Linked DNA regions of Homo sapiens: regions 1, 2, 3, 4, 5 and 7 are each linked to region 6. Evidence: promoter capture Hi-C in 16 types of primary human blood cells and fetal thymus (Javierre and others, 2016). All regions are on one chromosome and are shown on one strand. Each heading gives the region's core, a stretch centred on a gene start or on the middle of the fragment in contact. The rest is flanking DNA. Distances are from core to core; before and after follow the strand shown. Region 1 has its middle 3.7 kb from the start of ZNF790. Region 2 overlaps ZNF420 (zinc finger protein 420). Region 3 overlaps ZNF260 (zinc finger protein 260). Region 4 overlaps ZNF566 (zinc finger protein 566). Region 5 overlaps ZNF529 (zinc finger protein 529). Region 6 holds the start of ZNF225 (zinc finger protein 225). Region 7 overlaps LOC105372390 (a long non-coding RNA gene).

What was found. The method cuts DNA at HindIII sites, captures the fragments that hold promoters and counts their contacts. A CHiCAGO score of 5 or more calls a contact.
Region 1: a contact is called between a fragment that was not itself captured here and the fragment with the promoter of ZNF225 in region 6, in 3 of 17 cell types (monocytes, non-activated CD4 T cells and total CD8 T cells). The highest score is 8.8, in monocytes.
Region 2: a contact is called between a fragment that was not itself captured here and the fragment with the promoter of ZNF225 in region 6, in 6 of 17 cell types (non-activated CD4 T cells, activated CD4 T cells, total CD4 T cells and 3 more). The highest score is 25.8, in non-activated CD4 T cells.
Region 3: a fragment that was not itself captured here is called in contact with the fragment with the promoter of ZNF225 in region 6 in 1 of 17 cell types (non-activated CD4 T cells); the score reaches 9.2 in non-activated CD4 T cells.
Region 4: a fragment that was not itself captured here is called in contact with the fragment with the promoter of ZNF225 in region 6 in 5 of 17 cell types (naive CD8 T cells, naive CD4 T cells, total CD8 T cells and 2 more); the score reaches 10.9 in naive CD8 T cells.
Region 5: a fragment that was not itself captured here is called in contact with the fragment with the promoter of ZNF225 in region 6 in 2 of 17 cell types (naive CD4 T cells and activated CD4 T cells); the score reaches 7.8 in naive CD4 T cells.
Region 7: a fragment that was not itself captured here is called in contact with the fragment with the promoter of ZNF225 in region 6 in 1 of 17 cell types (naive CD8 T cells); the score reaches 6.1 in naive CD8 T cells.

What each region holds. Positions count from the first base shown.
Region 1 is chr19:36,840,226-36,844,004 of GRCh38, forward strand. It overlaps a transcript of ZNF790 not described here. Among named protein-coding and RNA genes, the nearest start is that of ZNF790, 3.7 kb to the left of the region's middle. The HindIII fragment of the contact is 389 bases long and covers 2,069-2,457 here.
Region 2 is chr19:37,088,301-37,091,735 of GRCh38, forward strand. It overlaps ZNF420 (zinc finger protein 420), which reads left to right. Exons shown (of 5, transcript NM_144689.5): 3 at 739-827; 4 at 2,695-2,821. The coding sequence starts at 819. Among named protein-coding and RNA genes, the nearest start is that of ZNF420, 12 kb to the left of the region's middle. The HindIII fragment of the contact is 6,334 bases long and covers 1-3,435 here.
Region 3 is chr19:36,514,731-36,518,557 of GRCh38, forward strand. ZNF260 (zinc finger protein 260) reads right to left here. Exons shown (of 3, transcript NM_001166037.2): 3 at 1-969. The coding sequence starts at 508. Among named protein-coding and RNA genes, the nearest start is that of ZNF260, 12 kb to the right of the region's middle. The HindIII fragment of the contact is 3,899 bases long and covers 567-3,827 here.
Region 4 is chr19:36,481,155-36,484,723 of GRCh38, forward strand. All of the region lies in intron 1 of ZNF566 (zinc finger protein 566), which reads right to left. Among named protein-coding and RNA genes, the nearest start is that of ZNF566, 6.6 kb to the right of the region's middle. The HindIII fragment of the contact is 921 bases long and covers 1,438-2,358 here.
Region 5 is chr19:36,559,729-36,563,364 of GRCh38, forward strand. The region is part of intron 2 of ZNF529 (zinc finger protein 529); the gene reads right to left. Among named protein-coding and RNA genes, the nearest start is that of ZNF529, 12 kb to the right of the region's middle. The HindIII fragment of the contact is 5,321 bases long and covers 1-3,636 here.
Region 6 is chr19:44,110,770-44,114,730 of GRCh38, forward strand. ZNF225 (zinc finger protein 225) reads left to right here and starts at 2,630. Exons shown (of 5, transcript NM_013362.4): 1 at 2,630-2,800. It overlaps ZNF225-AS1 (ZNF225 and ZNF224 antisense RNA 1), which reads right to left and starts at 2,414. Exons shown (of 2, transcript NR_033341.1): 1 at 2,053-2,414. RefSeq lists a silencer at 2,341-2,691 and an enhancer at 2,384-3,083. The HindIII fragment of the contact is 4,811 bases long and covers 1,833-3,961 here.
Region 7 is chr19:37,064,126-37,068,108 of GRCh38, forward strand. LOC105372390 (a long non-coding RNA gene) reads right to left here. Exons shown (of 2, transcript XR_001754095.2): 2 at 777-3,983. It also overlaps a transcript of ZNF420 not described here. Among named protein-coding and RNA genes, the nearest start is that of ZNF420, 12 kb to the right of the region's middle. The HindIII fragment of the contact is 6,364 bases long and covers 1-3,983 here.

The sequences.
Region 1 (3,779 bases), core at 1,013-3,512, 7.3 Mb before region 6:
AACATCATTTTCCTGGTACTACTGGCAGGGGACCCCAAGACCAACCACTACACGCCCAAGCTCTGATGATTCACTGGGAGGCTCACAGTGAAGTGATACAAAAGAAAATCAGTAAAGAAAAAAGCGCATGGGGCAAAGTCCAGGGGAAACCAGGTGCACACTGCGAAGGGTTCTTTCCCAGTAAATTTATATGGGATTTATTTGTTCCCCAGCAGTGAGTTGTGACAATACATGTGAGATGTTACCAATCAGGGCAGTTTATTATAGATTCAGTGCCCTATGTTTTTATTGGGGGCTGGTCACATAGGCAGTCTGTGCCTAACACATACCAGAATTTCAAATTCCCAGAAGGAAAGCGGGTGTTTAACATAAACCATACTGTTTGTACAAAAAGTTTAGGCATAGTAAGCCACTTATTAGGAAGGTGGGAACCAATCTGAAATTCAAGTTCTAGATGCAAGCCAAAGACTAACCTCGCATATCAGGCCTTTCTAAGGATAAGTAGTCTCAGACCTGCTATGTTAACTAATTTCTGCTCACTACTGTCCTAAAGATGTATGGTTTTCAGCAACATCAAATTACAAGACACATGAAAAGGCAAGAAAAATCATGACACTCAAGACATAAAAGCAAAAAGCAACAACAAACAAATAGAGGTAGACTCAGGTAGGATCTCCCCAGGAGCTTGAGGCTGCAGTGAACTGTGATTGCACCACTGCACTCTAGCCTGGGCAACAAAGCAAGACCCTACCTCAAAAATTAAAAGAAAAGAAAAAGATATGATGTAGATGTTGGAACTATCTAAAAAGGAATTTAAAATATTATTAATATTTTCAAAGCTTTACCATAATGTTTTTCAACCAGAGGTGATTTTGTTCTCCAGGAGATATACAGCACAGTATGAAGTTCTTGGTAGTCACAACTGGAGAGGTACAATTTGCATTTAGAGGACAGAGGTCAGGGAAGCTGCTAAATACACTACAAGCACAGGATAGCTTGCCACAACAAAGAATTATCCAGTCCCAAATAATGGTCCAAGGTTGAGATGCCCTAAGTAATCAAGACAGTGTGTTTTTGGTGAAGGACAGAAAGATAGATTAATGGAAGGAACAGGCTGGGCACGGTGGGTCATGCCTGTAATCCCAGCACTGTGGGAGGCCAAGGCAGGTGGATCGCATGAGGTCAGGAGTTTGAGACCAGCCTGGCCAATGTGGTGAAACCCCATCTCTACTAAAAATACAAAAATTAGCTGGGTATGGTGGCTCGTGCCTGTAATCCCAGCTACTCAGGAGGCTGAGACATGAGAACCTCTTCAACCTGGGGAATGGAGGTTGCAGTGAGCTGAGATGACACCACTGCACTCCAGCCTGGGCAACAGAGCAAGACTCCATCTCAAAAAATATATATATATATTTTTAGGCCAAGGCAGGCGGATCACCTAAGATCAGGAGTTCAAGACCAGCCTGTCCAACATGGCGAAATCCCATCTCTACTAAAAAATACAAAAATTAGCTGGATGTGGTAAGGCAGGGAGAATTGCTTGAACCCAGGAAGTGGAAGTTGCAGTGAGCCGAGATCACACCACTGCACTGCAGCCTGGAGGACATAGCAAGACTCCATCTCGGGGTGGGGGGTGGGGGGAGGGGAGAAGTTATTATTATTTTTTTTTGTAGAGACAAGGTTTCACTATGTTGCCCTGGCTGGTCTCAAACTCCTGGCCTGAAGCGCCCCTCCCGCCTCTGCCTCCCAAAGTGCTTGGATTACAGGCATGAACCACCACTCCTAGCCTATAAAACTTTTTTAGGAACACATAAAAGAAAGTGTACATGACCTGCAGTTAGATGAAGGGTTCTTAGACATGACAACAAAAGCACAATCCATAAAAGAACAACTTGATATACTGGACTTCATAGAAAATGTAAACGTCTGCTATTGAAGTAACACCGTTAAGGAGAAAGACATGGGATAGATTGGGAGAAAATATTTGTAAATCATATATCAGGCAGAGGACTTGTATCCAGAATATATAGAGAACCTTCAAAACTCAACAAGTAAACAAATAACCTCAAGCTTAAAATGTGCAAAGGGCATAAACGGAAATAAAAAGATAGATACCAGGAAAAAATATTATAAAATGTGCCTATATGAGATTTATAAATCACTAATTTCCACCATATATAAAGTGCTCATACATTTCAATAAAAGTGAATAATATTTCTAGAATTTAAAAAATTAGTATTATAGTGAGACAGACAAAGGAAACATAGTTCATGGAAATAATAAGTTTTAAATATTTAAAAAGGTATTCACCTTCATATCCAATGAAACAAAGTTAATAATATAGTCAGAATGAAACTATAAAAGTCACTTTAGGGATACAATGGAGTGGCTTGCAGCAAACCAGTATTCCTGCAGAAAACTAAAAAATCAGATATAATACAAAAAAAAAAAACACAAAGCTTTTTAACTTTTTTTTCCTGTATGAAAAAGACATGAGGGGCTGGGCGCGGTGGCTCATGCCTGTAATCCCAGCACTTTGGGAGGCTGAGGCAGGTGAATCACAAGGTCAGGAGTTCGAGAGCAGCCTGGCCAACATGGTGACACCCTGTCTCTACTAAAAATACAAAAAATTAGCTGGGCGTAGTGGCGGATGCCTGTAATCCCAGCTACTCAGGAGGCTGAGGCAGGAGAATCGCTTGAACCCAGGAGGTGGAGGTTGCAGTGAGCCAAGATCGCACCACCACACTCCAGCCCTGGCAACAGTGAGACTCCATCTCAAAAAAAAAAAAAAAAAAAAGACATGAAGGAGTGTTTGGGACAACCAGGAATAGCGTAGTCAAGACTATAGATTGTAGGTAATCACAGACATTGTGCAGCCACATTTTTCCTGGATTATTTGCCAATTCTTGGCAAAGGGCAGAAGGATCCAGACTGCTAGGACTTTAGTTTTCTGGGCCTAAAAACACAACATTGGAGACTTTATGGGCCAAGATCCCTGTGAGAAAAGAGGGACACAGACTTGAACTCTACATAAGGCTGGTTTTCTTCTCAAGACAGTTACCCATTTCTGAAACTGGTTGGGTCAGGAGGCTCAGGAACTTAGGCGGAAAGCTTCCAAAAAGCAGCAGAGTTTTTGGTAGTCTTGCTGGATTAAGAAGACAAAGATTTTGAGTTCAGGCCCTGTCAGGGGAAGGTGCCTTGGTGAACACACCAGATCCTCCTGAAACCCTGATGGGCTACGTCCTAGGAGCAGGCAAACCAGAAGCACAATGAACCTCCACAACCGTAATGGAGCCCTGACTCAACTCAATCACTGATTAAATGAAGGTCATCAGCCCCTACTTGATCTGCCCAGTAAAGGAAAGGATGAATTCTCTAAAGGAAGATATTATCTGCAGCCTCTACTATTTTTATACACCAGTCCAGAATTTAATTTTAAAAAGTATTAAGCATGCCGAGACAGGACTGTATGACAGAAAACTCTGAAAAAACAAACAGGTCGGCCAGGCACAGTGGCTCACACCTGTAATCCCAGCACTTTGGGAGGCCAAGGTGGGTGGATCACCTGAGGTTGGGAGTTCGAGACCAGCCTGACAAATATGGAGAAACCCCGTCTCTACTAAAAATACAAAATTAGCCGGGCATGGTGGCACATGTCTGTAATCCCAGCTGCTCGGGAGGCTGAGGCAGGAGAGTTGCTTGAACCCAGAGGTGGAGGGTGCAGTGAGCCGAGATTGCACCATTGCACTCCAGCCTTGGCAACAAGAGCGAAACTCCAT
Region 2 (3,435 bases), core at 394-2,893, 7.0 Mb before region 6:
CATTTTGTGCATGACTTTTTCAATTTGCTGAATTTATCTACTTTCCTATTATTGGATGGTTTTACTATTAGCTGTATCTTCCAGGAATGCAACCATGATTTGATTGAGAAAAAGGCTCTACTTCGCTTAAGAAATTTACTGAGTTTTTTTTAACCATTTCAAAAAGTTATAGTATTGATGGCAATGCTAATTGTGTTATTTGTCTTGCCTATAGCAAATATGTATAGAAACCTCCATTTATAGATAATGCATTTCTATTTATTCTATACGTACACATGAACACACATATATTTAGCCTTTATTTCAAAATGTCAAATATAAAAGGTGTCAACAATACTTAGTTACATATTGTCATTTTATAAGTCTAAATTTCTTCATTATAAGTAATTGTAGGCATAAGCATTTAATTATTTGTGCCTTCTAATGTAGTTGTGTATGATCATAAATATATTGAAATATTAAGTTGTTCATTATCTCCATTTTTGACATCTATAGATGTGTCGTTATTACCTATGAGTTTCATTTCAGAAGTAGTAGAGACATTGTTATATTTTCTTTTTGTATATAGAAAGCATTGAGTTTGATCAAGTTAAGAACCACAACATATGTCTGTCCCCCTTAGTGTGTGTTTTGGGGGTGGGAGAAACAGGAAGAAAAGAACAACAAAGATAATTCCAACTGAATCATTTGTTACTTTGCAAAACACCTGGTCTCATGGTTCTGCTTTCTCCTCCGTAGCTCTGCATTCTCCAGACTCTGTGCTTTCCTAAGATAGGAACCCAGAAGAGGACTGATCATTTCTTGCAGCTCTAAAAACCATGGCTCGGGTAAATTGGAGTTTCCTTGTGCTCTTTTCACTTACTTTTTTACAGAGCATGTGTGTGTTTGTATTCCTTACTCCTGAAACTTCATTCCTAACTGACCTCACTCAGGAATGTGCTCCTCAGTTTGTCCCATTCTGATAAGTGATAGTGTCTTCCCTAAGTGTGTCTTTCGAATCTAACCTTTAGTCACATACTTACTCAACAATATGTATATTGTTCAGTAATCTTTGACTAGGAACACTGATCTAACAAAAGTAGAGTTCCCTGATTTCATAAGGTAGAGGAGGATGTTAAATGGCACCACACATGAAAACCTTTTGAACTTCTCTTTAGATCTAAGTTCCCAGGTAGACAAGACAGGAGTTGGTCTTGACTGGGCTCACTCTCAGTATGTGGCAAGCGCTCATGCTTTATGAGTTTTTAAGATTAGGAAGATGATTAGGGACTGAATACAGAGAGATCAGGGATCTTCCCCAGGAACATATAATTTAATATGGATCAATTTGAAATTCGACATTATGTGCTGGTCTTGAATGTATAAATTTGGATTATGTTTTTCACCTTTCTATTGTTTAGAATGATGAAAAGTTACATTTACGGATGAATGGTAAATATGATCATAGTGAAGATGATCATTCACCAGCAGAAGTTGTTGAGAATTATAAACTCTGAGAACCAAGAAATACTTACAAGATTTTTACAACCTAAAATGTTCAAATATGAGCACTTATTAAGTCAGACATATTCATTATATGGAGCTATTCTGTAGCCTATAAAATATTTACTAAATTATTGATGACAAGGAAAATGTTTATGATATAGTACTCTGATCTAATGGTGAATCTGGAGCTTCAATAAATTCTTTAATTTTATACAAATCTTATTTTATAAGGTTTTACAGAAAAATTTTACCATTTTGTTTATTCCTTAAATAATGAAGAGAGAAACTTACATTTATTGAGAATGTATGATACACAATATACATATTGTATAAAATGCTTGTGTATGCTACTTCTTTTAATTGGGACATTGCATTTATTTTATTCCCAGACTTATCTGTAAAGTAAGATGTTCTGTATGCAGAAAATATGTGTAGCAGGCCAGGTGCAGTGGCTCACACCTATAATCCCAGCACTTTGGGAGGCCTAAGCCTTAAGGCCAGGAATTCAAGACTAGCCTGGGCAACATAACAAGACCCCTGTCTCTACAAAAAAATTGGAAAATTATCAGGGCACAGTGGCATGTACTGTGAGTGGCACGTACTGTGGTCTCAACTACTCAGGAGAATGAGACAGGATCACTTAAGCCTAGGAGTTGGAGGCTGCAGTGAGCTATGATGGTGCCACTGCACTCCAGCCTGGATGACAGAGCAAGACCCTGTCTCCAAAACAACAACAACAAAACTATAGCAATAGGAATAATCAGGAACATATTTGTACTTTTCAGCCCATGTGCTCTGTTGCTTCCTTTGTGGAGGGATCTTCATCTCCCTCTCCATTGAAAAAGTATTTTTTTGGCCGGGCACAGTGGCTCACACCTGTAATCCCAGCACTTTGGGAGGCCTAGTCGGGTGAATCACAAGGTCAGGAGTTCGAGACTAGCCTGGCCAAGATGATGAAACCTTATCTCTACTAAAAATACAAAAATTAACTGGGCGCAGTGGCAGGTGCCTGTAATCCCAGCTACTCAGGAGGCTGAGGCAGGAGAATTGCTTGAACCTAGGAGGCGGAGGTTGCAGCGTGCCGAGATCGCGCCACTGCACTCCAGCCTGAGCGACAGAGCAAGACTCCATCTCAAAAAAAAAAAAAGAAAGAAAAAAAGAAAAGCATTTTTTAAATTTCCAAAATTAACATTTTGTTTGTTGTTTCAGAAATTAGTGATGTTCAGGGATGTTGCCATTGACTTCTCTCAGGAAGAGTGGGAATGCCTGGACTCTGCTCAGAGAGATTTGTATAGAGATGTGATGTTGGAGAACTATAGCAACTTGGTATCACTAGGTAAGGAATCTAGCCTTCATATTTCAGGATCTACCTTTGGATTGGCTGCTTTCTCTGCTGTTATTTCAAATTTCCTTTTTAAGTAATTAACTGAATTTCTTATTCTTTTCAAAGGAGGAGTTTGAAATTACTGGAAGTAGACATGGTTTCTCAGGGCACCTTTATCTTTTCCATCCTTCAAAAAGCCTTACCACTGCCTTCTAATACCATCTTCCCTGATGAACAAAGGGCTAGATTTGAAGTTTGGGATACTTGGAATATTGGCAGATAAAACAGCCTATACATTGTTACACTTTAGATCTGCTAAAGGAGCTCTAAATAATTCACACGCCCAGTCACAGATTTAAAAAATAGATGCAGAGATGTATGTTTTTTCTGATAAAAGAGTTTACATCATTTGTATAGTGATAGAGTAGATCAATGCATTTCACCAACAACTCAAATGAAGACAACCCATTAATTAGAACAAACACATTGTCTTATATGTGCTTGGTAGTTGAATATTACATATTAAGAACTTTGGGCTGGGCTCGGTGGCTCACGCCTATAATCCCGGCACGTTGGGAGGCCAAGGTGGGTAGATCACCTGAGGTCAGGAGTTCAAGACTAGCCTG
Region 3 (3,827 bases), core at 1,266-3,765, 7.6 Mb before region 6:
CACACTGATTACATTCAAATGGTTTTTCTCCAGTATGAATTTTCTCATGCTCAGTGAGATATGCTTTGCCGTTAAAGGCTTTGCCACATTCCTTACATGCATAGGGTTTGGTTCCTGTATGATTTTTCTGGTGTCTGATGATGGTTGGCATCTGAATAGAAACTTTTTCACATTCATAAGGTTTCTCTCCAGTGTGATGTTTCTGATGAGAAAGGAAGTTTTCCTTCTGGCTGAAGGCTTTTCCACATTTATTACATTTATATGCCTTCTTTCCTGTGTGACTTCTAAGGTGTAGAGTAAGAGATGAGACTCGAGAGCACACTTTACCACATTCAGTGCATTCATGAGATTTCTCTCCAGTATGCATTTTCTTATGCTCTACAAGGTTTTGCTTCAGGCTAAAAGTTTTTCTACATTCATTACATTCATAAGGTTTCTCTCCAGTATGAATTTGATCATGCTGAAGGAGATCTGATTCATGCTGAAGACTTTCCAACATGCCTATCATGCATGTGAATTTAATCAGGAGATTTCCCTAGTATCAAATAAGATGTAATAAGGATGAAAGCTTTCCCACATTCACTAAATTCATATGGTGTATTTTCAATATTAATTCTCAGGTATCTAATGAAGTTAAATTTATGATGGAAGACTTTTCTCACATTGATTACCCTGAGATGAGATGATTACAAAAAGGGATAAAATGTAACATTCTCTTTATATTCTTAATGGTTCTTATATAGCTTCTCCCATATTTAGGTATAGATTGTATATAAATTAGGTTTCAAATTCTTTTAAACTGAGTTCCATACACAGAAGGGTAGTCTTGAAGAATCAATGACTGTTCAGAGGAAATACTTTGTTTCCTAAATTTTCCCTCAGTCTGTCTTTTCACAGAGAAAGATGAGACTTAACTTACAAGTCTTTCATGTTGCGTCTTTATCTGTTTATAAACTTCCCAGGCTTCTTCTAAAAGGAAGTACAAAAAAATCATAATTGAAAAAGTTAATATAATATATAGTGCCTGGCATGTAATAAGCGTCCAATAAATTAGGTTATCATTATCATCAACATAATATCACTAACACCTTTGAAGTTTCCCATTATTAATATAATTTCAGAAATGTATTACTGTAAAATAGATTCTTTTTTTTTTTTGAGATGGAATTTCGCTCTTGTTGCCCAGGCTGGAGGGCAATGGCGCGATTTTGGCTCACCGCAACCTCTGCCTTCCAGGTTCAAGCAATTCTCCTGCCTCAGCCTCCCGAGTAGCTGGGACTACAGGAGCCCGCCACCATGCCTGGCTAATTTTTGTATTTTTAGTAGAGGCAAGGTTTCTCCATGTGGGCCAGGATGGTCTCAAACTCCCGACTTTGGGTGATCCGCCCACCTCAGCCTCCCAAAGTGCTGGGATTACAGGCATAAGCCACTGCGCACGGCTGTAAAATAGATTCTTTATCCAAGCCTAGTCTCATTATAAAATAAAGTTCAAATACAAATAACATTCCCAGGTATGTGTAATTTTAATTGCTTTTCAATGTAACCCAGCACACTTCATAAATCAGTAAAATGAGAGAAAATAAGGCTAGGTATGGTGGTTCACACCTATAATCCCAGCACTTTGGAAGGGTGAGGCAGGAAAATTGCTTGAGGCCAGGAGTTTGAGAGCAGCCTTGGTAACACAGCGAGACTCTCGTCTCTATAAAAAATTTAAAAACTAGCCAGGCATGGTGCCTGTAGTCCTAGCTACTGAGGAGATTGAGGTGGGCAGATTGCTTAGGCCCAGGATTTCAGGGCTGCAATAAGCTATGATCGTGCCAGTGTCTGGGTGACAGTGCAAGACTCGGTCTTTTATTTTATTTTTTTGGGTCGGAGTCTTGCTCTGTCGCCCAGGCTGGAGCGCAGTGGCATGATCTCGGCTCACTGCAAGCTCCGCCTCCTGGGTTCACGCCATTCTCCTGCCTCAGCTTACTGAGCAGCTGGGACTACAGGCGCCCACCACCATGCCCTGCCAATTTTTTGTATTTTTAGTAGAAACGGGGTTTCACCACGTTGGCCAGGGTGGTCTCGATCTCCTGACCTCGTGATCTGCCCGCCTTGGCCTCCCAAAGTGCTGGGATTACAGGCGTGAGCCACTGCGCCCGGCCGACTTGGTCTTTAAAACATAAGGAATCGGTGAGAAACAGGATGAAAGGACAAATACTTAAAAGACTGGGAGTGCATAGGAAGACAGGGCAAAAATAAAATGAACAGAAAAGTTTAAATAAGGTGCTTATTTCTATGTCTTCCCGAAACACCATTAAAATGACAGTAAAAGGGTGAAGAAGGACACATAAGAACTAAACGGTTAAGAAGATATCAGTGGACAAAAAGTATTAGGAGGACTAGGGATAGTGGCTCCTTCCTGTAATCTCAGCACTTTGGGAGGCCAAGGCAGGAGGACTGCTTGAGGCCAGGAGTTTGAGATCAGCCTAAGCAGCACAGCAAGGCTTTATCTCTACAAAAATTTTAAAAATTAGGTAGGTGCAGTAGCATACACCTGTAGTCTTAGTTACTTGGGAGGTTGAAGTAGGAGGATCGCTTGAGCCCAGGAGTTCGAGGCTGCAGTATGCTATGATCATGCCATTGCAATCCAGCCTAGGTGACAGAGTATGACCTTGTCTCTAAAAAAAAAAAAGTATTAGGAAATTTTGGAAAGAAAGCAAATAGAGAACTGTAAATTAACAGCAGAACTGAGTGGTTTAAAGAAAAGCCAGCAGATGTGGGGGCCACCTTCACAGGTCTGTAACACAGATATTGACAGATATGCTCTGTCAGTGGAGAAACTGGGCAAGAGTGGAAGGCAGGGCTTACAAAATGACTGTGAAAGGACCAGCTAATGCCCTGAACTCTCCTAGCTGGACAGAAATGTGAAGTTTATCATCCAGACAAAACCAAGAGGCTCCAAATTTAGTGATGACCAGCAAAGTAATGAGAGCATCCTAGTAAGAGAAGAATGAGTAAAAGTTTATACACATAACAGAGGCTCTTCTACTGTTAGAGTCCGAGAATGCTGGTGGTTACTAGCTGTCAGATGATGGAAGAATTATTTTCTTTTTTCTTTCTTTCTTTTTTTTTTTTTGGGACGGAGTCTCGCTCTGTTGCCCAGGCTGGAGTGCAGTGCGATCTCGGCTCACTGCAACCTCTGCCTCCCGGGTGAAGGGATTCTCCGGCATCAGCCTCCCGAGTAGCTGGGATTACAGGTGCCCGCCACCACGCTCGGCTAATTTTTGTATTTTTAGTTAGAGACGGGGCTTCACCATGTTGGCCAGGCTGGTCTTGAACTCCTGACCTCATGATCCACCCGCCTTGGCCTCCCAAAGTGCTGGGAATACAGCCATGAGCCACCGCACCCGGCCCGGAAGAATTATTTTCTGAAAAAATGAGAAGACCATGAGAACACCTACAGATGCTAACATTTGGAATCATCTAACGAAACACATCTATATTACTGATTGATGCACAGTGAAAACCACCATTTCATAAGCCCCGCTTACATACACAAATTAATATAGAGCTAAAGATCAGAAAACATTTGATGAAAGTCCTAACATCAAAGGCAGATCAAACAAAATACAAGGCAAAGAGCAGAAAAACTCACCCATATAATACTACAATTAATATCATGGAAAGTTAGGAGATTACTATTATCACTGCAATGAAATATTAACAGTGTTCTATAAAGAGGTGTTTTTAGAAATAAACAATATGAAATTGATCTTAAAAATTCAGTATGTTGGGGAAAGAAAGTCTAGAAAATCTCCTAGAATAAAAAAAGGAAGAATGGA
Region 4 (3,569 bases), core at 648-3,147, 7.6 Mb before region 6:
CTCATAATGAGAGAAATAAGAAAACAACAATGAGGGCTGGGCACAGGGGCTCATACCTGTAATCTCAGCACTTTGGGAGGCCGAGTCTGGTGGATCACCTGAGGTCAGGAATTTGGGACCAGCCTGGCCAACATGGTGGAACCCCATCTCTACCAAAAATACAAAAATTAGCTGGGCGTGGCGGCACGCGCCTGTAGTCCCAGCTACTCAGGAGGCTGAGGCAGGAGAATCACTTGAACCCAGGAGGCGGAGGTTGCAGTGAGCCGAGATCGCGCCACTGCACTCCAGCCCCGGCAACAGAGCAAGACACTGTCTCGGGAAAAAAAAAAAAAAAAAAAAAAGAAAAGAACACTGAGGTACTATTTCTCATCTATTAGACTGGTGAAAACTAAAAAACATGACAACATATTCTGTTAGGTGGGCTGTGAAGGGAAACAGACATGCTCATACACAGCAAGTAGGAATAAAAACTGGTACAACAGTTCTAGAGAGGAATTTTGCAATACTTAACAAAACTACAAAGCACTTACCTTTTGACCCAGCAATACCGCTTCTAGGAATCTACCCTAAAGATACTCCTCCAGCAATAGAAAAATACATATATACAAGGTTATTGCAGCACTGTTTCTAGTAACAAAATATTGTAAATGACCTAAATATCCATACGTAGGAAAGCGGTTCAATAAACTATGATAAATCCACAGGCTGCAGTATTATGTAACAATTAGAAAAGAATTATGAATATCTCTTTAACTGCCTGAGTGTTATCCAGAATGTATCATTAAGAGAAAGAAACAATGTACAAAAGAGTGCCTAGAGAATGCTATCTTTAATGTAAAAAGAATATAGGTAACTCTTCATTTGTGCAAAAGAAACACAGCAAGGATAAAGCAGAAACGAATGAAGTTGAATATATACAAGGAGTCTGTGGGAACTAAGTTAATTTTTATTTATTTATTTATTTATTTTGAGACGGAGTCTCGCTCTGTCGCCCAGGCTGGAGTGCAGTGGCGCGATCTCGGCTCACTGCAAGCTCCGCCTCCCAGGTTCACGCCATTCTCCTGCCTCAGCCTCTCCAGTAGCTGGGACTACAGGCGCCCGCCACCACGCCCGGCTAATTTTTTGTATTTTTAGTAGAGACGGGGTTTCACCGTGTTAGCCAGGATGGTCTTGATCTCCTGACCTCGTGATTCGCCGGCCTCGGCCTCCCAAAGTGTTGGGATTACAGGAGTGAGCCACTGTCCCCTGCGAATGTTTTCACATTCAAAATAGTGTAGCCTGCTACAATCAACCAGGATGTGGGGGAACCCAAAATGCAACAAATGATCCTTAAATGTAAGAAAAATGTAAGAAAAAAAAAAAACATACTGAAAAGAGTGGCAAAGAAAAGAACTAAATTGAGTAACTTTGGAAGATGTTTGTTTACTATATACTATAAGCTTAAAGAAAAAGAGCTACACAGAGATTCTCTACTGTAGTTACTAAATACTTTTTACACAGGTCCAGGTTGGCAACTCTGAACTAATTTGCATGTATTCTAGGATAGAGCTAATTATTGATTCTGAGAAGCAGGTTTCTCTCTGTTGGAAAATGAAGTAACAAGGAAATGGCCAAATTTGATGGGAGACAATTCTCCATGGGTCTTGCATGTTTCTGCGTATCTTGCAAGAAGAGGTACTAAGTGTTTTTGTTCTGCACTATTTTACCAAGTTGTTTATACAGTGAACAGCCTTGGAAGACAGAGTCGGTCTCCTTCTACAGCAAAGGGTAGGCATTCTAACTATCCATTATAAAAAATTCAGGTTTCCTAAGGTCAAGGGAACACACAGATACCTGTGTATTTTGCATAATCCTGGGTGTATGACTGAATCAGTACCATGAGAATGTAGATATTCTGAAGATTGCCATGAGCAACAAAGCATCCTTTGTCTCAGACTCAGAAGTCTCATGTTTTCTGAACGTATCTGTGAAACTGACAAGCCAACTTACTAGCTTACAACTAGGGTAAAATCTCAGATAGTTCATAGTTCTTGGGAAAAGAAAATACCCTGTGGTACTGGAATAGAATTAAACATATGAGTGTAAACTGGTGTGTTTTTAACATATAAACAAATAAATAGACATAAATGTGCATGTAGACATTTGTGTATTTTCTCACTCTCTCCACTGACCAGAACCAGAGCAAAGACACACCAGTAGCAATAAGCACACCAAGTGCCCAGATCTTGGTTTATAAATTCATTCTCCAATAAAAGAAATTAATGCTGCTTGGAGAAATTGCTGAGCCCAGAGATGGAAGAGGGAAAATACAAGATGAACCTGGAACATCTTATGTCCCAGAAAGCGGGGTTGGGGGGAAGCTTTAAAAAATGATCACACGTTGAAAAGACACAAGAGCCAACTTAAGGAGCTTCTGATGGCCAAATATGGGAAAATTTGAACAGCAAAATAAATAAATAATAATAATAGAGAATAGAATAAAATAAATATCCATGAGTCCATAGGTAAATAATTGAATAAACAAATGGGGACAAAAGAAAAACTTCAGCTGAATTAAATGTAAAGGAGTTTCATTGAACAATGAACGATTCGCAAATCAGGCAGCCCCCAGAATCACGGCAGATTCAGAGACACTCCAGGGATGCCTCGTGGTCAGAACAAATTTATAGACAAAAAAAAGGGAAGTGACATACAAAAATCAGAAGTGAGGTGGAGAAACAGCTCAACTGGTTACAAGTTCTTGTTTGCCTTTTTTTTTTGAGACGGAGTTTTGCTCTTGTTGCCTAAGCTAGAGTGCAATGGCACGATCTCAGCTCACTGCAATTCTCCTGTGTCAGCCTCCTGAGTAGCTGGGATTACAGGTGCACTCCACCACACCTGGCTAATTTTTTGTATTTTTAGTAGAAATGGGGTTTCACCATGTTGGTCAGGCTGGTCTCCAACTCCTGACCTCAGGTGATCCGCCTGCCTCGGCTTCCCAATGTGCTGAGATTACAGGCGCCAGCCTCTGTGCCCAGACAGTGTTTGCCTTACTTAACACAGTTTGAACACTCAGCAGTGTATGAGTGGTTGAAGTATTGCTGCTGGGATTAGCCAAGACTCAGCTTGTTACAGGCACATACACTGTTACAGGCACACAAGTTAGGTTTCCAATTCTGTCTACCTGTTAGGTTACAGTTCGTCCATAAGGACTCAAATATAGAAGTACAAAGTCCTTCTCAGGCCACATTTAGTTCACTTTTAACAGGAGCAAGAAGAGACAGCTCTTCCTTATAGTAGAATTTAAATTATCAAAGTGTAAGAAATGATAGAAGGAGAAAATCACCGCTAGGCAAACATCACAGTAATAATTGTTACAGGTAAAAATTATCAATGAATGTTAAAACTAATGCGTGAGAAAACATGATGAGAAATAGGATTTTGGCATAGTTTCTTTTTTTTTTTTTTTTTTTTGAGATGGAGTCTCGCTCTGTCACCCAGGCTGGGGTGCAGTGGCGCGATCTCAGCTCACTGCAAACTCCACCTCCCGGGTTAACGCCATTCTCCTGCCAGAGCCTCCCGAATAGCTG
Region 5 (3,636 bases), core at 485-2,984, 7.6 Mb before region 6:
GTGTATACATATATGTATGTGTCAATTATATATCAGTAAAACAGAGGGGGGTGGTTATCCTTATGCAGCAAACCTATATTTCAAAACTTAAGAACATTTCAAAACTTAAGATGAAAAGACATTTCCAGATAAAAACTGAATTTATTGCTAGCTGACTGACCTTAAAAAGTACTCAAGGAAGCTCTTTAGGCTGAAAACAGGTGATCCCAGGCAGTAATACAAATCCATAAGAAAAAACAAAGAGAAGTGGCCTGGTGCGTTGGTTCACACCTGTAATTCCAGCACTTTGAGAGGCTGAGGCGGGAGGATCCCCTGAGGTTGGGAGTTCGAGACCAGCCTGATCAACGTGGAAAAACCTGGTCTCTACTGAAATAAAAAATTAGCCGGGTGTGGTGATGCATGCCTGTAATCCCAGTTACTCGGGAGGCTGAGGCAGAACAATCACATGAACCCAGGAGGCAGAGGTTGCGGTGAGCCGAGATCACGCCATTGTACTCCAGCCTGGGCAACAAGAGCGAAACTCCGTCTCAAAAAAAAAAAAAAAAAAAAAAAAGAGAAGCAAGCCAGTTTTATGTAATTATAAAAGACAGTATACATATATATCTCTTCTCCTCTTAACTGATATACAAATTTTATGAAACGTGTACTTATGTATTTATTGGGCCCATAACATACAGAAATGTAATATATTTGCTAATAATAACACAAGGCAGGGGAAAGCAAAGTTGTACTGGGCTAAGGAAATGAATCCAGATGGTAACTCGAATCCATCTGGACCAAATGAGGAGAACCCAAAGTGAGAAATCAGATTGATAAAATAAAAGTTATAAATGTATAAAGGTTCTCCTTTCTTCTCATTTTTTTTTAAAAACATAGACTTATATAAGGTAAAAATTACAACAACGATTGGTTGAGTTTGAAACATCTGTAGATATAATGTGAAGACCAATATTACTATAAGAGAAGATGAAAGGAAATAAGAGTTATATAGGAGTAAATTTCTCTATCTCACTTGAATTAAGCCAATATAAATCAGAAGCTGTTTCTGAAGTAAGATATTTGGCAGAATAAATCTCTAAGCAGCAAAGTGTTCAGGGTGCTGCTCGGCTTCTCTTAACTACTCAGAGTAAAATGTGAGAAGAAACAATACAAAGATGGGATTTATAACACGGAAGCAAAATATAGAGATTTGAAAATTCTCAGCCTAAGCATGTAAATAAAAAGGTATTTAGGAAAGTAAACCAAGGGTGTGACCAAGTGACTTTCTGATCAGAGTGTGGCTAGAAAGAAGCCAGGTGTTTTCATCATGACAATAGGAGAATGAACCCAATGGCACTTCAGAGAGCTTCAAGGCTGCTCCTCCCATCACAGGCCCACAGTGCGAGGGCCTTGAAGGCAGGATGGTTTCCAGGGAAGGGCGTAGAACACTCATGGAACTTTGGGGCTTGCTGCCCGGGGCTGCCTCAAGTCTCTGCTCCCCACATCCCGGCACAGTGCTCCTTGGCTGCCGTAGTTGTGGCTCCAGTGGGCCCAGGTGCAGTTTAGTCCCTGCTCTGGAGGGCAAAGTGGTGAACCTCAGCATCCACATGGTACTGATTTTGCAAGTGTGCAGAGTGCACAAGATGTGGAAGCATGGCATCCTTCAAAGAGATTTCTTTTTTTTTTTTTTTTTGAGACAGACTCTCACTGTATTGCCCAAGCTGGAGTGCAGTGGTGCGATCTTGGCTCACTGCAACCTCCGCCTCCCCGGCTCAAGCAATTCTTTTGTCTCAGCCTCCCAAATAGCTGGGATTACAGGCACGTGATGCCTTGGAGAGCCTCAGGGCCTAGACAGAGACCTACTACAGAGGCAGAGCCACTGCAGACAGTCCCCCCTAGGGCATTGTCCAGTGGAGTCATACAGGCTGTGCCACTCCCCAAACCCTAGACCTGTAGAGCCAGCAGCATGCAACATGGGCCTGGGAGAGAGCCAGTGGCACCTGACTGCAACCTATGAGAGCTGCAGTATGAACTGTGCACACCAAAGCCATGGTGGCAGGGACCCTTCGGGCCTTTGGGGTCCAACCCCCATCCCAGTGTGTCTGGAACATGCGACAAGGAGTCAAAGATGATTATTCTCCAGGCTAAAGGTTTATTGTTGTTTGCCCTGTTCAGTTTTGGACCTACTTGAGACCAGTGACCCATACTTTCTTATTTATCTGTTTTGGAATAGAAATGTCTGTCCTGGCCGGGTGCAGTGGCTCATGCCTATAATCCCAGCACTCTGGGAGGCCAAGGCAGGTGGATCATCTGAGGTGGGGAGTTCAAGACCAGCCTGACCAACATGGAGAAACCCCATCTCTACTAAAAATACAAAAAAATTAGCCAGGAATGGTGGTGCATGCCTGTAATCCCAGCTACTCGGGAGGCTGAGGTAGGAGAATCGCTTGAACCTGGGAGGCGGAGGTTGCGGTGAGCCGAGATCGCACCATTGCACTGCAGCCCAGGGGAAAAAAAAAAAGAAATGTCTGCCTTATTCCATTATTATTCCATTGTAGCTTGGAAGCACGTAACTAGTTTGGTTTCACAGGTACAGGACTAGAGAGCAATTTGCCTCAGGATGAATCACATGATTTAGATAATACCTAGATGAGACTCTGCCCTTTAAGTTGACTTTAAAGTTTATGCTGAAATGAGTTTTAATACTTTGGGGGCTATTGGAGTGAAATGAATGTATTTTGTACATGAGAAAGACATGAATATAGGGGGGGTCCAGGGGCAGAATGTAACATGTCCTCTCCAAAATTCAGGTGTTGCCAATGTGATAGTATTAGAAGGTGGAGCCTGGCCGGGCGCGGTGGCTCATGCCTGTAATCCTAGCACTTTGGGAGGCCGAGGTGGGCGGATCACGAGGTCAGGAAATCGAGACCATCCTGGCTAACAGGGTGAAACCCCGTCTCTACTAAAAAACTACAAAAAAATAGCCGGGCGTGGTGGCAGGTGCCTGTAGTCCCAGCTACTCAGGAGGCTGAGGCAGGAGAATGGCAGGAACCTGGGAGGCGGAGCTTGCAGTGAGCTGAGATTGTGCCCTCCAGCCTGGGCGACAGAGCAACACTCTGTCTCCAGAAAAAAAAAAAAAAAAAGAAGGTGGAGCCTTTAAGAGGTGATGAGGGGCTCCTCCCTTTGTGAATGGGATTACAGCCTTCATAAAAGAGGCTCAATGCAGACTTCCTTGTCCTCCCTTTTGCACGTGAGGACACACGTCCTTTCTGGAGGATGCAGCATCAAGGCACCCTTGGAAGAGGACATTTGAACCTGATGATGCCTTGATCTTGGACTTCATAAACTACAGAACTGTGATACATTTCTGTTCTTTATAAATCAGGTATTTTGTTATAGCAGCACAAACAGACTAAGAAAGTTGCCTATGGGTGCCAGGCGCGGTGGCTCACGCCTGTAATCCCAGCACTTTGGGAGGGTGAGGCAGGTGGATCATGAGGTCAGGAGTTCGAGACCAGTCTGGCCAACACAGTGAAACCCTGTCTATACTAAAAATACACCAAAAATTAGCCAGGCATGGTGGTGTGCGCCTCTAATCCTAGCTACTCGGGAGGCTGAGGCAGGAAAATCGCGTGAACCCAGGAGGCGGAGGTTGCA
Region 6 (3,961 bases), core at 1,380-3,879:
CGCACCCGGCTGATTTTTGTATTTTTAGTAGAGACGGGGTTTCACCATCTTGGCCAGGCTGGCCTCAAACTCCTGACCTCGTGATCCACCCGCCTTGGCCTCCCAAAGTGCTGGGATTACAGGTGTGAGCCACCACGCCCGGCCACTAGGGGTCTTAAAACGGACAGAACACTTGACCACAGACCACCAAATTAACATGTGACTTATGCTTTCCATCATGAATCGGGTGTTGACCCCTGCACCTTTTTAAGTTACATGTGCAGATTAGTATTCCATTTGGAAGTGGTATATATGAGATTGTGTTTGTGCAGGCTCTGAAGCCACAGGTAAGTGCACCTAATATTCATCTCCCTACTCTTGCTGTATTCAGAATGAGTGAATATAAAGAGAAGTCATCTGAAATTATTGTGTCTCAGCAGCAGAAAGAAGTGGAATACACGGTTGGACGCGGTGGCTCACGCCTGTGATCCCAGCATTTTGGGAGGCCGAGGCGGGTGAATCACCTGAGGTCGGGAGTTTGAGACCAGCCTGACCAGCATGGAGAAACCCCCTCTCTACTAAAAATACAAAATTAGCCGGGCGTGGTGGCACATGCTTGTAATCCCAGCTACGCTGGAGGCTGAGGCAGGAGAATCGCTTGAACGCGGGAGGCGAAACTCCCTCTCAAAACAAAAAACAAACAAAAAACAACCAAAACTGAAAGCTGGTAATGAAACAAATACGTATACACGAACATTTGTAGCAACACTGTTCACTACAGCCAAAAGGTGAAAAGAAGCCAAATGTGCGTCAATGTATGAATGGAGAAACAAATTGTAGTATAAACATAAAATATTCATCTATGAAAAGGAATGAAGTACTGATACGTGGTATGATGTGAATAACATTAAAAATATTATGCTAAGCAAAGGGAGTTAGAAACAAAATGTTCCATTCATTTTTATGATTTGTCCAAAATAGGTAATAGAAAAGAGAGAAAGATTCATGTTTCCCCAGGAATGGGATTATGGACAACAGTAGTGATTGCTTAGTGGGCATGGGGTTTTCTTTGGGTGATAAAAATGTTTTGTAATTCAAGAGGTGGTGGTTTCACAATGAAGCAGCTACTTTGTCTGAGGTTTAAACCCGGGGTTCGTCGTTAAGCGCCAGAAAAATTTAGGACACGGACACACAAAAACTCCTCAGTTTAGGAGCGGAGGTTTAATAGGAAGAAGAGAAAGAGAAACGGGTTCCTCCATAGAGGAAGGGGTCTCCGAGCGGAAAAGGGTCGGCTGGCAGTGAATGTGCTGAGTTTTACAGACCAGTTTGAGGAGGCAGTGTCTGATTTACATAGGGGTCATAGATTGGTTCGATCAGTTATGACGTTTACATAGTGCGTGGGGAAGGCTGGTCGCCCCACCCTAATCTTCTTATGCAAATAGGCTTCCCAGTTGATTGGCCCATCTTGCCAGCTTCTTACTGTGCACGTGGCTGACAAAGAGAAGGGAAGATGGAGCCGCCATCTTTAACATGATTGGCACAACTGCTGGTATCTATGTCTGCGGCAGCTGGATTTTACAGGCTGCTCTTCCTTAGGAAGGGAAATAATTTGGGGCTGCTTTTCATTAAAAAGAAAAGCCTTACCGAGGGCTCCCATACCCTATCTGCCTAAGTGATGGCTTCTTAACTCGTATATATTAACAACACTGTATTCGTACTAGATGCCATTGCCATTGAATTATGTGCCTTAAAATAATTTTGTTTTGTGAATTACACCTCAAAAATATTTTTTAAATAATAAAACGACCACGTTAAAAACGTTTTGCATAGCGAAAAACAAGTCAAAGGAAAAAAGCTTTTTGGTTGAGCAATATTTGATACAATGTTAATATGAGTATGTAAATAATACTTAACGGAGGGGAAAAAACTAAACACTCAATAGAAATGTGGGCAAACTATTTGACCAATTCACAAAGACTATAATAGTGGCAACGGAAAATATGCACGGATGTTCCACTTTATTTACAAAAGAACAAATACAAATTAAAACTACATTTAGAAACCATTTCTTACCATTAGATTAGCAAAACTTAACTCCTCGAAGACTGTGTCTTCTCGCTTGTTCCCTTTCCAATAACACTCCTGTTATCATTGGAGGCGTTTAGACTTCAGAAATTCCTGTCTATTCAGTATTTTCTGTCCTGGACCAGGGAGAGAGAAGGACGACTCTCAGGATAACAGTTCACATTCCCCACTAGGCAGGCGCTCGTGGCTTTGGGATTCGTTCCCAGTGGGCACCTCGGAGTGGCAACGCTTCCCCCTGAAGAATGAGATTTTGAGCGTTTTTCCTTCAGCATTCGGAGGAGTGTAATCCAAATGCTCTGTGGAGTCGTACACACTGGCTCCAGAAGGAGGATACAAGCAATTCTGGGAATGGTAGTCCAGACGCTCAGTGGAGTAGCGGTCAGCTTGGCTCCGGCAGGCGAATCAGGGGATTTCTGGGAAATGTAGTCCAGACGCTCAGTGGAGTCTCGGTCAATTTGACTCCGGCAGGTGGATCCCAGGGAATTCTGGGAAGTGTAGTCCAGACGCTCGGGGTCGTCGCGGTCAGTTTGTCTCAGGAATTCTGGGAAGTGGAGTCCAGACACTCAGTGGAGTAGCGGGCCACTTCCGCTCCGTTACTGTGAGGTTGCTGCAGTTTTGTCCCTGGTAGTTTGGGTCAGTTCCGCGAGACCCTTCTGAATTTCCTGGACCTACGCATTGGATCCTTAACGAACTGGTGATCGAATTAGGGGAAAAGAAACCTCGTCGGAGAGCAGAGGTTTGGCGGAGCGGGGCCGCTGTTTTCGTTCTCGTCAGTGGAGCCTTCTTGGGCTTGGGGCTCTCCTCGCGTCCCCGGGGTGTTTGGGACTTGGTCGGGTCGCGTCTCGCCTGGTTTTAGGGTCTCCGGGGCTCTGAGCTCGCCCACTCGGCCTCCCTGCACCCCACGCGCGTGGCCACTTCCTCGCGATAAAACGCTGGGATGTTACTTAATCTCCTTGGGTCTCCCGTTACAGTTCTTTAAGATGGGGAGTTTAGGACCATCCTAATAGAATCGTTTTGGGAACTGAAAGCGGTAACACAAATGAGAGCCTTAAAGCAGCCCCTGTCACTTGGTGACTGGTGGTCTCTTGTTAATTTCCCACGAAGCCTGTCAGGTCCCCGGGTGGGGTGAAACTCCAGCTGCAGGGGCACCGGCCCTTCTCCCTGATTCCTGCAAGACGCTGGGTGATCCCGGACGCCTTCTGACCTCTCTTTTAGGAAGGCGAGGGTTGCATCCACTTCCAGGAGGGGAGAGGAGCATTTAACTTTTATGGGGCACGGCGACCACGGTCAGAGTGTTTCACAGCCTTCTCCTTACCCAGCCCGACCTTTCCAAAAGAGCTGCAGGGAGGGACTTCTTGGCTTCTGAGGGCAAAGCTCTACGTGAGTGATCCTTGGCTTTTTTCTTTGACAGAGATGCTCACCCCAACCGAGAGTGTATAGGATGTGTCTTCGGGCATGGGTGTTGCTTTCAGTTGTCATGTTTTTCTAGTCTTTAATCTTGAAAGATAGCATAGCTTTCATCGTTTTTTCTTGGTATTTTATCCTTGTTATTTTTGAAGAGTATAGATGAAGTTATTTTGGTCAAAGATGTTCATTTGGAGTTTTTCTGATGTATTTCACGTTTAACTTCAAAATATGCATTTTTTGCTGGAATACCACAGAAGTGGTAAATCTCTCTCTCTCTTTTTTTTTCTTGAGACGGAGTTTCGCTCTTGTCGCCCAGGCTGTAGTGCATGGCACGATCTCAGCTCATTGCAACATCCACCTCCTGGGTTCAAGCTATTCTCCTGCCTCAGCCTCCCAAGTAGCTGGGATTACAGGTGCCTGCCACCACATCCGGCTAATTTTTGTATTTTTAGTAGAGAAGGGATTTCACCATGTTGGCCAGGCTGGTCTC
Region 7 (3,983 bases), core at 366-2,865, 7.0 Mb before region 6:
TGGTAATACTCCTTGATGAAAGAGCATTACATCTTAATCACTAAGATATACCAGCCAGGCTTCTCTACTGTAAAATTACTCTTTTTTTCCTTTGTAATTAGTAAAGATTTTATGGGGAGGTACTCTGAGACTATGTAAACACACCATTCTTCATCAAACTTTCAATTTATTAATTTATGTCAGTATAGACTTGTGATTTCCTATTTCATTCAGAGGTTTGTAATCTATTATTACTTATTTTAATGACCAGTTTGCTCCAGATTTGGCAAGTGGGAGCCCCTCCTGTGTGGGTTTTGCGGCCTTTAACAGGTTCCTATCATTCTTTGAGCGCCCCTTACTTACACATATAAAAGATGTTCCAGGCTCATCTTGTATTTGCTGTGCCCAACACTGGAATCAATCATTTCTTCAAAGAACGCAGATTTTTATCAGAGGAAATAATAATAGTAGTAAAATATATATTTTATGTGTGTATTTATGTATATGAAACATATTTGATCAGTCCCCCCTAGAAGAAGCCACTATCCCATTACTGCCGCCATACTCTCCCTGGATAGATACCTCCTCATTGTGCTCAAGCTACAGTGCAGTGCTTTAGGCCTAAGTAACTGCACCGGCATGTATGCCTAGCTTGCTCAGCCCCTAATGGATTTAGGATTACAGTATTAGGAAGAGAAGGGAAAATGAAGAATCTTTCCTGTTGGGGTGATCAGACCCAACACCAGGTCGTGGGGGTGACAAAGTCCGGCGGAGTCAAAGGATTGAGAAAAAGACAGTTTGAGAGAGAAAAGTGGGACCGGACCCAGGGGGCCATCACAATCGTAGAGGCTGCGAAGGCCCGAGCTCTGGGAGCCCATGCTATTTATTGGTAATCCAACAAAGAAACAGGTGGTGAGAATGTGGAGGTCAAAAGGGCACATTGCATTAAGTACATGATTTACAGCTGTGATGGTTTAGCATTTGCTCTACTTGAGATAATGGAGAGCAGATTCTTTTAACTCAAGATACAATCAATCCTGGGAGAGCAAGGAGCAAGGAGCCAGCAAGTCTAGATACATTCCAGAGCCATGAGCCCTGGATTCTATCCAAGCCACAAGGGATTTTATGCCCTGGGCTTAGATTATGGTGCATGATGGTAGGCTTCCACCCTTTAGCATAGAGCTTGGTGTTCCAAAGGCCACAAGGGGTTTTAGACCCTGGACCCCGGACATGTTCCAAGACTCTTTTACATTATGTCAGACATGCAAGCCCTGCCTCAGCTTCTCCTAACCCTCAGCTTTTTCCCAACACTTTCCCAGCTGGATCAGAGAGATGCAATGTTTGAAGGACTTGACCCTCTATTGCTGGCTTTTGAGATGGAGGAAGGGGGCCGTGAGCCAAGGAATGTGGCAGCCTCTTGAAGCTGGGAATGGCCCTTGGCTTACAGCCAGCAAGCAAATGGAGACATTGGACTTACAGATGCAAGAAACTGAATTCTGCCTATTAACCTAAATGAGTAGGAAGCAGATTCTCCCTAGAGCCTCTAGAAAATAATGCAGCATTGCTGCCACTTTAAATTTAGTTCAGTGAGGTCTGAACTTCTTGACCTACAGAACTAAAAGCTAATAAATTTGTGTTGTTTTAAGTCACTAAATTTGTGGTAATTTGATACAAGAAAATACTCGTACAGTGGTCACTTAATTTTCAATAAAGGTGCCAAAGACCTCCACTGTTGAAAATACCATTTGCATTTTCAATAAATGGCACTAGAACAACTTGATATCCATACAGAAAAAGAAATAAATGAACTTCAACCCCTACCTGCCACCATGAACAAAAATTAACATAAATCCTAGAACTAATATAAAAAGCTACAACTCTAAGGCTTCTAGAAAGAATAAATATGTAAACATATTTCCAACCTGGCAGTAGACAATTTGTTAAGTCACAGAAAGCAAAACTGCAAAAGAAAAAGAATTGACAAATGTTATCAAAAATGTTTTTCTTACTCATCAAAAGACACTGTTAAAAATATGACTAAGAACATTTATAACTCGGCCAGGCGCGGCGGCTCACGCCTGTAATCCCAGCACTTTGGGAGGCTGCGGCGGGTGGATCACCTAAGGTCAGGAGTTCGAGACCAGCCTGACCAATATGGTGAAACCCCGTCTCTACTAAAAATACAAAAATTAGCTGGGCATAGTGGCATGCGCCTGTAGTCCCAGCTACTCAGGAGGCTGAGACAGGATAATTGCTTTAACCCGGGAGGCAGAGGTTGCAGTGAGCCGAGATTGCACTCCAGCCTGGGTGACAGAGCAAGAGTCTGTCTCAAAAAAAAAAAGAACTTCTATAACTCAACAATAAAAAGATGAACAAACCAATTAAAGATGGGCAAAAATTTTGACCAGATACTTCACAAAGAAAGATGTTTTGCCAATAAGTACATAAAAAGTGATCAACATCATTAGTCATTAGAAAAATGTAAATTAAAAATACTGTGGGACAGTAATGAGATATATAGCCAGAAAGACAGCACCAAATGTTGGCAAAGAGGTAGGGAGACTGAAACTCTCATACTTTGTTAATGGGAGTGTAAAATGGTGCAATCCCTTTGGGTATGGTTTGACAGTTTCTTATAAAACTGAACATACACCTATACACTGTGTCTGAACAATTCCATTCCTAGGTGTTACCCCAGAGAAATGAAAACAGATGTTCATAAACAGACATGTCCAAGAATGTTTATGACACTATTATTCATAATAGCCAAAAACTTGGAAATAGCACAAAAGTTCAACAAGAATATGAATAAACTGTGATACAATCATAGAGTGGAATACAACTCAGCAATAAGAACTATTGAGTATACCACAAACACCCACACATACAACATGGATACATTTTTAAAACATTATACTGAGTGAAAGAAGCCTTACATACAAAAAACACATATTTCAATCCCAATTATACGAAGTTCTAGAAGAGACAAAAATTAATCTACAATGGGAAAATATCAGAATGGCAGTTGTTTCTGGATATAGAGTGGGAAATGACTAGGAAGGAGCATGAAGGAACTTTCTAGGGTGATGGTATTTTTCTTCACTTTGACAGGATTTTGGTTTGCACAAGTATTTGAATCTGTCAAAATTCTTCAAATGGTAAATTTAAGATTACACAATTTTACTGTATGTACATTTTACCTAAAAAGCTGTAACTAGATATTGAACTTTAGTTAGTGGTATGCATGCTAAAGTATTTAGGGGTAAAGTATACGATGTCTACAACTAACTTTGAAATACAACAAAAAATGGATCAATTCATCCTTATGGATGAATACAGGGCTGGATACAAGGCTAATTATTTGGTAAAGCAAATACAGCATGATATTCATTATAGTACTTAGATAGCGAATGTATGGGTATTTTTGTACAATTCTTTTAATTTCTACATGTTTGGAAATTTTCATAAAATGGTGAAAATACAAAACTATCAACTTATAATTCTACATTCAGCAAAAATATCTTTCAAGAATTAGAAGTTTTTAGACAAATAAAGACAGAAGTTTTCAACAATAGATCCTCACTGAAGAAAACTGTGATAGATGCACTTCAGGTAGAAGAAAAGTGATGCAAGAAGGAGAGGTAAGCAAAGAAAGCAGTAAACTGGTGTGTAATCAAACACTCAGCTCATAAAACATAATAATGTCTCCATATGTGTGTGTACATTATTTTGGTGCTTATGTTTACAATATAATTTAGCAGGATATACTTAAGTTATCAAAGTCTAAATAGTATTTTTATTTCCTGCCAATGACATTGGCATACTTCAACACTAATCACTTCTACCAACTTAAAAGCTATTGCTGTGGTATTTTTAAAATATATATTAGTGTGTGTGTGTATATATATATATACACTTACACACACACATACATATAGATATATAACCAGATTATACCACAAAGATAGCATGTAGGTTGGTAGAAACAATGCTTGGTGCTAAAG